Regions from separate parts of the Homo sapiens genome. Here all the other regions are linked to region 1. The links are contacts of gene promoters, found by promoter capture Hi-C in blood cells and fetal thymus (Javierre and others, 2016). All regions are on one chromosome and are shown on one strand. Each heading gives the region's core, a stretch centred on a gene start or on the middle of the fragment in contact. The rest is flanking DNA. Distances are from core to core; before and after follow the strand shown.

Evidence for each region. Contacts are between HindIII fragments. The CHiCAGO score rates a contact against its expected background, and 5 or more counts as called.
Region 2: a fragment that was not itself captured here is called in contact with the fragment with the promoter of H2BC13 in region 1 in 1 of 17 cell types (M2 macrophages); the score reaches 5.1 in M2 macrophages.
Region 3: a contact is called between a fragment that was not itself captured here and the fragment with the promoter of H2BC13 in region 1, in 3 of 17 cell types (M2 macrophages, M0 macrophages and M1 macrophages). The highest score is 7.0, in M2 macrophages.
Region 4: a fragment that was not itself captured here is called in contact with the fragment with the promoter of H2BC13 in region 1 in 1 of 17 cell types (M2 macrophages); the score reaches 5.7 in M2 macrophages.

The regions. Positions count from the first base shown.
Region 1 is chr6:27,806,577-27,809,276 of GRCh38, forward strand. H2BC13 (H2B clustered histone 13) reads right to left here and starts at 1,353. Exons shown (of 1, transcript NM_003519.4): 1 at 903-1,353. The coding sequence starts at 1,330. The coding sequence ends at 950. H2AC13 (H2A clustered histone 13) reads left to right here and starts at 1,597. Exons shown (of 1, transcript NM_003509.3): 1 at 1,597-2,091. The coding sequence starts at 1,634. The coding sequence ends at 2,026. It also overlaps the pseudogene H4C10P. RefSeq lists enhancers at 58-658, 659-1,258, 821-920, 1,171-1,400, 1,741-1,940 and 1 more. The HindIII fragment of the contact is 5,899 bases long and covers 1-1,919 here.
Region 2 is chr6:27,522,327-27,525,026 of GRCh38, forward strand. It overlaps the pseudogene HNRNPA1P1. Among named protein-coding and RNA genes, the nearest start is that of TRQ-CTG1-2, 4.1 kb to the left of the region's middle. The HindIII fragment of the contact is 1,241 bases long and covers 790-2,030 here.
Region 3 is chr6:27,504,961-27,507,660 of GRCh38, forward strand. TRS-TGA4-1 (tRNA-Ser (anticodon TGA) 4-1) reads right to left here and starts at 949; the gene lies at 868-949. RefSeq lists an enhancer at 682-761 and silencers at 872-1,303, 882-941. The HindIII fragment of the contact is 677 bases long and covers 975-1,651 here.
Region 4 is chr6:27,316,230-27,318,987 of GRCh38, forward strand. No RefSeq gene overlaps it. Among named protein-coding and RNA genes, the nearest start is that of POM121L2, 5.3 kb to the left of the region's middle. The HindIII fragment of the contact is 505 bases long and covers 1,222-1,726 here.

The DNA.
Region 1 (2,700 bases), core at 103-2,602:
TACTCTGGCATCTTTTGCTAGCAGGCATTGACAATTAGGAGAAGGCAAGGTGTTAACTTTTACTGATCTCCCACTTTTTTTTTTGAGACAAGGCCTGGCTTTATCACCCAGGCTGGAGTGCAGTGGTGCGATCTCAGCTCACTGTAAACTCCGCCTACCAGGCTCAAGCCATCCTCCTACATCAGCCCCCTAAGTAGCTGGGACAACAGGGGCGCGCCACCACTCCTGGCTAATTTTTGTGCTTTTTGCAGAGACGGGGTTTTGCTATGTTGCCCAGGCTGGTTGCGAACTCCTGGGCTCAAGGGATCCGCCCGCCTCCACCTCCCAAAGTGCTGGGATTACAGGCATGAGCCACCGCGCCCACCCCTCTAGTTTCCAGTTTAGTCGGAAAGATTAAAAACGCCAGCCTTGTTTTCCTAGTGCTGTTTTTGGTTTTTACCTCGGGTCTTTTGTCGTGCCTTAAAATCATGTCTGGTTGCGCAAGTGAGGGAAAGGATTGGGTAAAGGGGGCGCCACCGCAAGTTGCTGTGCAACATCCAGACATCACCAGACCCACCACCTGGAGCCTGGCCTGGCGGTGTCAAACGCATTCTGGTCTCATCTTTTTAGAAACCCGTGGATGCTCAAGGAATTTCCGGATAACGTGATCCCGGATGCGCTTGACTGACTTACACGGAACGAGCAAAGCGCAAAGCAGTCCCTGCTAAGGACTTAGTTTATGCCCTCAAGCGCAAAGGTCGGACCCTCTATGGTGTTGGTAGCTATATGCACGTACCTCATGTACATTTCACCTTAAATGGCTTTCAAAGAGCTAGATTAATTTAGTGGATAGATCAAAATGATTTATGACCCCTCGCCCCCCAGTGATAGGAAGAGCGAACCAGCTCTTCTTTAGATAATAGTGAGTGGCTCTGAAAAGAGCCTTTGGGTTGGACAAGAGCTTGAGAATTTACTTGGAGCTGGTGTACTTGGTGACGGCCTTGGTGCCCTCCGACACCGCGTGCTTGGCCAGCTCCCCCGGAAGCAGCAGGCGCACGGCGGTCTGGATCTCCCTGGAGGTGATGGTCGAGCGCTTGTTGTAGTGCGCCAGGCGGGAAGCCTCGCTTGCGATGCGCTCGAAGATGTCGTTGACGAAGGAGTTCATGATTCCCATGGCCTTAGAAGAGATGCCGGTGTCGGGGTGGACCTGCTTCAGCACCTTGTACACGTACACGGAGTAGCTCTCCTTGCGGCTGCGCTTGCGCTTCTTGCCATCCTTCTTCTGGGCCTTGGTCACCGCCTTCTTGGAGCCCTTCTTCGGGGCGGGAGCAGACTTGGCCAGCTCGGGCATAATGAAACAATAGTGGCAAAACCAAAACAAGAAGTCGGTCTCCTCTTTTTATATAATAGTTTATGCGGCCGAGGTAGTGGGAAGGTCTCTGCTGATTGGTAATTATCCGTGGATGACGACAGATGCCAGTTTTGCCCAATCAAAATAGGTATCCTGCATAATCGAGTCCTATTGGTCTAAATAAAAATAAAACGTAAGCCAATCGCACAGCTTCCTTTTCGCGCCCAGTAGAGGCTATAAAATGTACGTTTTTCTAGTTTCACTTCAGTCTTTCTTGACCGTATAGATAATAGGCCTTTTGCCATGTCTGGGCGTGGCAAGCAGGGAGGCAAAGCTCGCGCCAAGGCCAAGACCCGCTCTTCTCGGGCCGGGCTTCAGTTTCCCGTAGGCCGAGTGCATCGCCTGCTCCGCAAAGGCAACTATGCGGAGCGGGTCGGTGCTGGAGCGCCGGTGTACCTGGCGGCGGTGCTGGAGTACCTGACCGCCGAGATCCTGGAGCTGGCTGGCAACGCGGCCCGCGACAACAAGAAGACTCGCATCATCCCGCGTCACCTCCAGCTGGCCATCCGCAACGATGAGGAGCTCAACAAGCTTCTGGGCAAAGTCACCATCGCACAGGGTGGCGTCCTGCCCAACATCCAGGCCGTGCTACTGCCCAAGAAGACCGAGAGCCACCACAAGGCGAAGGGCAAGTAGAAGCCTGGATTAGTTTGCAGCAACTCAATCCCAAAGGAACCAAAGGCTCTTTTCAGAGCCACCTACAATTTTGTGGAAGAACTGAGCACTATGTTTAATGTAATTTCTCGTCTTTGCCTACTTCTAAACCACTCCAAAGGTTACGTAGATCAGTCTTCGGTGTCTTGGTTAGGTAGTGACAATCTCGTTAGCTTTATAAAAAGCCTGGATAACATTAAAAGTATTAAACACGCCTTCATCTTAAGCTTAGTGGAAGAAAATTTAGTTTTTCCTAAGCTGGCATTATCCAAGTATGTTGAATTCTGTATGGTTCACCGTCGGGTTTTACTTTTAGTCTGTTGAAGCAAACATGTCTGCTTTGGGGCCAGATGTTTTCTGGGTCTTGGTAAATAACAAACCGGGCATTCGACGTTCAATCCAAATCTAGATCAACGACTTGGATTCTTCATTTCTGAGAAATATCTCTCGAATCTGTATAATTAATTGCATTTGAACATTAATGATTGAGTTGAGAATAATTATTAGACTAATTAGAACAGTTACTTATGGTGCCAGGTAGTTCTCTTTGAAGCATTTTCTGAAAATTCATTGAAATTAAAATTTCCCGAGCTTTCCCACCCCCAGCCACACAAATTGATTTCTTAGTACAGAGATGACTTAATTTGTTTCAGCAT
Region 2 (2,700 bases), core at 160-2,659, 280 kb before region 1:
GCCCACTTTTAACTTAGATGGACTTCATTGCTTCTAAACATCTCCTCTTTTCTTCAAAGACTTTGTTATACTTGCATAAACAAAGATTTGTCATGATATAATACAAAATTTTGGAACGTTTCCCCCTTGTGAAAGTTTAATGTGACAAAATAGACATTTTGCTTTTAAGTTATTTTGACAAAATGAAAAAAATTGTCAAATAGAACTTTTGTTTAAAGACTCAAGGCTAATATAGAAAATAGTTTTTGAAGGTATTTTTAAATATTCTAGAAATGAAGAATTAAGATATAATTACAACTTTATTATTCTTCATTTTATTCTAATGTAAATATTTATAATATTTGTTGAGAATAAAAGTATGTGATGTTCTTCCTATACAGCAATCTAAAGAACTCTTATATTTATATTAACTTCCTTATATTAATTTCAATTTTATTAATTCTTAATATTACATAAAATATAAAGTTTTTCACAAATTATTAATTATTGAAGCATTTTATCCCTAAAATAGTAAAAATCCATTCATATTTCAATGATTGACAGTATCTTAACAAAGCTCACAAGATTTTCACTCTATGCTTAATAGCTAAAATTCTTATTCTTGTACTAAACAATAACAGTACTAAAAAATAAATAAATAAAATAAGACAACTATACTATTCAGATACTAAAAGTAAACCTGGCCTTTTCCGCCTGTGGACACTGCTGAGGAAGCACTGTTAAACGCCCTTCTTCCCACTGCCATCATATCTAAGTCAGCGTCTCCTAAAGAGCCCGAACAGCTGCTGAAGCTTTTCATTGTCATTGGAGGGTTGAATTTTGTTTTTTTCGGTTTTGTTTTTGTTTTTTTTGAGACGAGTCTCTTTCTGTCGCCAAGCTGGAGGAGTGCAGTGGCGCAATCTGGGATCGCTGCAACCTCCGCCTCCTGAGTTCAAGTGATTCTCCTGCCTCAGCCTCCCAAGTAGCTGGGACTACAGGCGGGCACCACCACGCCTGGCTAAGTGTGTGTGTGTGTGTGTGTGTGTCTGTGTGTGTGTAGTACAGACGTGGTTTCACTATGTTGTCCAGGTTGGCCTCCCAGAGTGCTAGGATTACAGGCATGAGCCACTGCACCTGGCCAGGAGGGTTGAGCTTTGAAACAACTGATGAGAGCCTGAGGAGCCATTTTGAGCAATAGGGAACGCTCACGGACTGTGTAGTAAAGAAAGATCCAAACACCAAGCACTCCAGGGGCTTTGGGTTTGTCACATATGCCGGTATGGAAAAGGTGGATACAGCCATGAATGCAAGGCCGCACAAGGTGGATGGAAGATTTGTGGAACCAAAGACAGCTGTTTCAAGAGAAGATTCTCAAAGACCAGGTGCCCACTTAACTGTGATAAAGATGTTAAAGAAGAACTGAAGAACATAAACTAAGAGATTATATTGAACAGTATGGAAAAATTGAAGTGATTGAGATCATGACTGACCGAGGCAGTGGCAAGAACAGGGGCTTTGCCTTGTAACTTTTGATGACCATGACTCCATGGAAAGGATTGTCATTCAGAAATACCACACTGTGAATGGCCACAACTGTGACTTTAGGAGTGCTCTGTCAAAGCAAAAGATGTTTAGTGCTTCATCCAGCCAAAGAGATCGAAGTGGTTCTGGAAACTTTGGTGGTGGCGTTGGAGGTGGTTTTGGTGAGAATGACAACTTCGGTCGTGGAGGAAACTTCAGTGGTTGTGCTGGCTTTGGTGGCAGAAGTGGTGGTGGTAGATAGGGTGGCAGTGGGAATGGCTATAACAGATTTGATAATGATGGAAGCAATTTTGGAGGTGGTGGAAGCTACAATGATTTTGGCAATTACAACGATCGGTCTTCAAATTTTGGACCCATAAAGGGAGGAAACTTTGGAGGCAGAAGCTCTGGTCCCTATGGTGGTGGAAGCCAATACTTTGCCAAACCATGAAACCAAGGTGGCTATGGCAGTTCCGTAGCAGCAGTAGTTACGGCAGTGGTAGAAGATTTTAATTACTGCCAGGAAACAAAGCTTACCAGGAAAGGAGAGTCAAAGAAGTGACAGGGAAGCTGCAGATTACAACCGATTTGTGAACTCAGCCAAGCCCAGTGGTGGAAGGGCCTAACTGCTACAAAGAAGACATGTATTAGACAAATACTCATGTATATGGGCAAAAAACTTGAGGACTGTATTTATGACTAATTGTATAATAGGTTATTTTAGTTTCTGTTCTGAGGAAAGTATAAATCATTTCAACAAAGGGTTTTAATATAGTGTGTTTTTTTTTTTTTGCACCTAGGCTGTTGGATGCCAAATGTAATAGTCTAATCATGACTCTGAATAAATGTGTCTCTTTGAAAAATGTGCTATGTAAAGTTAGTCTACTCTGAAGCCATCTTGGTAAATTTCCCCAACATTGTGAAGGGAATTCCTTCAGGGTGATGCCACATTCTATTTGGAATTTGTATATGACCTGCTTGGGTGGAGAAGCCATTATCTTCAGTAACCTTGGTGTAGTTGAACTGATAGTTACTGTTGTGACTTGAAGTTCACCATTAAAAGAGTTCACCGGGCCAGGCGCGGCGGCTCACATTTGTAATTCCAGCACTTTAGAAGGCTGAGGCAGGAGAATTGCTTGAACCCAGAAGGCAGAGGTTACAGTGAGGAGAGATCTTGTCATTGCGCTCCAGCCTGGGCGA
Region 3 (2,700 bases), core at 63-2,562, 300 kb before region 1:
TTCTCCCTCGACCTTTTCTTCCCAACTTTATTCTGTATGAGAACCAAAGTACTGAGTGTCTGAAGTTACACTGTTTCCTGAATCTACTGTAAAGCCCAGATAAGTGTTCTTGGTCTTTGAATGTGCTGGAGAAGATAGGAAGAATAGACTGGGGCCAGAGAACTTCACCTTGAATTTTTCTAAGCTGTAAGATGAAGACATTTAACAAAATCAATAGAATAAAAATAATAAGGGCTTGGCAGCCAGAGGCTAGCTTTAACATCCACTTCCTGTGGTTTAATAAACCTTTCCCATTCTTGGGCTCTCGAATTTTTAGGCCGAGAAGATACAGTGTGTGTGGTACTGTCTACAAACCAACGAATTTATATTGAAGCTACAATCACAATCATTGTTATTGCTGCAAAACAGGTAATGCCTTGTTGCTGTTGAATGACAGTCCCTAAACTTGGGCTAACAAAACACTTAATACACTATAGGCAAAATCTTCACACACCAGACAAGCAACTTAGACTTATCTACAGAGAAAACTCGATGGAGTCTGACTTCGATTCTCAGAGCTTGTAGGTGAGGAAAAGAGAATTGCCTTCCTCAAATCAGGATTAACGTTAGGTGGTGTTTACACCACAGCAATAGATTCTCTCTTACTCGAGACACGGTTGTCTCGGATGTTGGAGGAGGAGGAAAGTAATGGACTCAGAGAAAGAGGTAAACTACAACGCAGGGTTAATAATGATGATGACAGCTAGAATGCAGAGTTCAACGCAGTGTTACCAAAGGAGATGACACAATTGTAATCCAGGAGACTCAGTTGCCTTTGGGGTGCAATTAGAAGGAAACTATTTGGGAGAAGTCAGGCTAAAACCAAACCGTAGCCGACAGGATTCGAACCTGCGCGGGGAAACCCCAATGGATTTCAAGTCCATCGCCTTAACCACTCGGCCACGACTACGCACCTGTGTAGTGCTCTTGGTTTAAGCTTTTGAAGATGTGAGCAGTGTGCCATTCTTGGGTAGTATGGTAAGTAGATACTACAGTAAAAGATGTTTTGGTGCCTGGTTACTAAGTCTAGTAACAAAGAATTTTCTAGGTGCATTAAGAGCTTCCAGCTTTTAGATGAAATAAGTCATCCATACTGAATTGGAATTCAGTTGAGAAAAGTGGAGTTCAAAGGAGCATTCTGAGACAAGAGACTTGGATTTTCTCTCCCCCTAGAACTCCACTTGCTAGTCACGGTTGATGCACCTGTTCACAGGTATTTGTGAGAAACCAGCAGAAAGGGAGTTTGGAGCTGAGGGTCTGATCCTAGTAGCTTCACAGCCTCAAATGACAATAGCACAGGAAACCTGCTAGAGGAAATTTGAAGGAATTATGACCTTGGAGTCATTTGCTTTTGCTTTCAGTATTGAATACTAAACCAGAAATATCTTCAACAGCTTTGAACTGCTTTGTCCTTTCTCTGGCTTAAAGAATTCGTTGAAACCCAATTTGAGCAGGGGTGCAGGATGAGAAGGGGCAGGGAAGACCTAGCCCTCGTGGACCCTCTGAAGAAAAAGTTGATGGGAAGGTCTCCATCCTCTCAGGAAAACTCACTCCTTTTCACCTTCCCCAGGGAGGGAAGCAGGCAGTCCCAGGAGCCAGGGGAATATGGAGAAGCTTAGATAACATGTTTTCCAAAATTTTGCAGCTTGAGAACATTGTCTGTCCCTCCTAACGTAAAAGAGCTTGTGAATGCCACATTAAATCTAGCTATATTAATACCTTTTTACCCCCTAGGATTAAAGACTGTTGGTTCAGGAAAACACTGCAGAACCAGGCTTTTATTGTTTATTCTTTAATGGGGAATCTCAGGGATTACAGCTTTGAGTTCTGGGAATTGAAATGCTTGGCCAAAGTACCACCAAGTAGATTCAGACAGACTTTCAGATACAAACGAGAGAATCTCTTTTACACCTGAGACCCTCGAACTCTCTTGCAGATACAGTTTTCCCACATGCATTTTCGTTTAGGGCAGACAAAAAGGCAGTTGCTCCTGAAGTGAATTGCATTGTGTTGCCCAGAAAGATATGTTGAAATCCTAACCTGTGGTACCTGTGAGTGTGACCTATTTGAAAACAGTCTTCGCTGATTTAATCAAGTTAAGAGAAGATCATGCTGGATTCAGGTAGGCTCTAAATCCAGTAATCCAGTGACTGCTGTCCTTATAGGAAGTGAGAAATTTAGAGACACAGACACATAGTCACTAGTTCAAAAGCTATGTTGAGAGGGAGGCAGAGACTGGAGTGATGCAATTACAAACCAAGAATGCCAAGGATTTTCTTCAACCATCAGGAGCAAGGAAAGAGGTCTCAGATTTTCCCTCAGAGCACCTAGAAAACAACCAACCCGGCCAAAATCTTAAGAATAAATCTGTCTTTTTAAGTTACCCAGTTTATAGTAATTTGTTAGGGCAGTCTTAGGAAACTAATCAGCTCCCTTACCCATGTTCTTGGAACAAGATCCTTGCTGTTGCTGCCTTAGCACTTCTCCATTCCACCAGGAAGCTCGTGCAAATGGTGACTCACTTCTTTTTTTCTTTTTCCTTGAGATGGAGTCTTGCTCTGTCGCCAGGCTTGGAGTGCAGTGGCAGGACCTTGGCTCACTGCAACCTCCAACTCCCTGGTTCAAGAGATTCTCCTGCCTCAGCCTCTCGAGTAGCTGGGA
Region 4 (2,758 bases), core at 224-2,723, 490 kb before region 1:
AAATTAATGAAGTTAATAATAGAAAAATGTCAAGAAAATCAATGAAATGAAAAACTAGCTCTTCAAAAAGATCAATAAAATTAACAAACCTTTAGATAGAGTGACCAAGAAAAAAAGAGAACTGAAATTATTGGAATCCAAAATGAAAGAGTGAACATTACTACTAACCATATAGAAATAAAAAGACTGTAAAGGACAGCTGCGAAAAACTGTATGCCAAAACATTAGATAACTTAGATGGAATAGACAAATCCCTGTAATGATGCTAACTACTGAAACTGACTCAAGAAGAAATAGACAATCTGACTAGACCTGTAATAAGTAAAGAGATAAATTAGTAATAAAAAAACTATATACAAATAAATGTCCAGACTTAGATGGCTTCAGTGTTGAATTCTACCAAACACTTAAAAGAATTAATACCAACTCTTCACAAACTCTTCCAAAAAACAGAAGAGGAGGAAACACTTCTCAACTCATTCTACAAGGCCAGTACCAGTATCCTTATACCAAAACCAGGCAAAGCCATCACAAGAAAAGAAAACTACAGACCAATATTTCTTATGAATACAGACATAAAAATACTCAACAAAACACCAGCAAGATGAATCCAACAACATATAAAAAGAACTAGATATCATTACCAAGTGGGATTTATCCCAGAAGTGCAAGATTGTTTTAAATTCTGAAAATCAGTTAATATGATACACCATGTCAACAGAATAAAAAACAAAAACCACATGACCATCTCAAAAGATCTCTTTCATGTTAAAAAGTCTCAACAAACTAGAAATAGAAGGGAATTTCTTCAACCCTAAAAATGCACCTACAATTGCATGGAACCCTTGAAAAACTAGAACAAAGTTGAAAGACTCACACTTCCTGATTTCAAAATTTACTATAGAGCAACAGTAATTAAAACAATGTTGTACTGCCATAAGCATAAACATATAGATGAATGGAATCTACAGTTGAGAGGCCAGAAATAAACCCATATGTCTATGGCCAACTGACTTTTTCCAAGAGTCTGAGACTATTCAGTAGGAAAAGAATAGTCTTTCCAACAAATGGTGCCGGGACAAATTGACAGACATGTGCAAATGAATAAAGTTTGACACTTACCTCACACCATATACAAAAATTGACTCAATGGATTAAAGAGCTAAATATAAGAGCTAAAACTATAAAACCCAATATTTGGGAAACCACTGCCTTATAGAAAGCTTATACATTTGTACTACAAGGCAAATACATGAATGTTTATAGCAGTATTATTTAGAATATAAAAAATCTGGAAGGTATCTGAATGTGTATTCACAAAAACGAACACCAGAGAATTTAATTGTGATATACCTGCGCAGGGGAATACAATACCACAACGTAAACTGAATGGTCTCCAGGTACATTCAATAACATGGATGAATATCACAAACCAAAAGTTGTGCAAAAGAAGGCAGGCAAAGAATAAAAAGACAGTATATATATAAAGTTCAAAGACTGGAAAATACATTTTGTCTTTTGATTCATACACATGAGGTGTATTAGTATCAAGTAAGGAAAACAGAGATCACACTGATTATTTTAACAGGATTACTAGATGGAATTGGTAAAATGGGTGTTGGAAGACTAAAAAGGCAAAAAGAAACAGTAGTGACAGCATGAAACAGCTACTACCCCAAGAGCTGAGGAAACACACGTGCAAGAGGTGGGGTTATTAGAAGCTAGAAGCTTAGAGAAAGAGACTCAGTGCTGAAGCCAGATCTCTGAGGAGGGGTCACTGGCCAGCTGGTGCTGTGAACTCTGAGAGGATATGATGAGGCTGGTTCTGGGAGTGTGGAAAACAACCCTGAAAACGTGAACTAATTGCTGCTGGAACTTACTGCTACTACAGCGTGAAGTGCTGCTGGGATGATGCTAACAGGAAGAGAACAACAGAATTGAGAGTTTCTTCTCTCTTTTCCAGCCTTCCAGTGTCCTTCTAGAGTCCTCCACTGCCAAAGTCTAAGAGAGGGTACAGGGTGAGGTTTGCAGTCCCAGCCCCAGCTTCACAAAGCAGAATGTAGAAGTGTGAACAACATTAATATAAAGTTCAGAAACATGCAAACTTAACATATTCTCTCATAATGCATAGATATGTGGCAAATCAATTGAGAACAGCAAAAAGAATGATAAATATAAAATAATTATTCTGCAGAGGAAGAAAGGAAGAAGAGATTGGGAAGGGCAGATTTAGGGCTTCAAAGTATTGGCAATATTTTATTTCTTCAGTTTTATTGGGTAAATTTGTGCTTGCAAAAAAGTATTTTTACTTTTATATATTGCATTTTTGTGTGTATGTCATTTGAATGTACATTCAAATTTTCACAGTAAAATATACTTTATAACATTTAACACAAGTTGTTGGAAGCAATTAAAATACAGTAAAAATTTTAAATCTTAGGAAAATCACTTTGTACATACCAACTAATATAGGTACTGAGAATTCAATTAAAAATTGAATTGACTCATTAAACAGAACAGTATTAAGTTTGCTTTTTAAGGAAACTTCAGAAATATAAACCTGCTCCAAATGAAAAAAGTCATAGCAGCATCTTAAGGGAAAAAATATTCTCTGGGAAGATGCAACAAGGCCTAAGCAATAGCAAAATTCATGGTAATTTTATTGACTGAGTGAAATTAAACTGTTTAATTTCTCCCATCACAGTCCTAGAGCCTTGGGGAATGCAGCAGAATGTTCTATTGCATTGTTCAGGCAGGA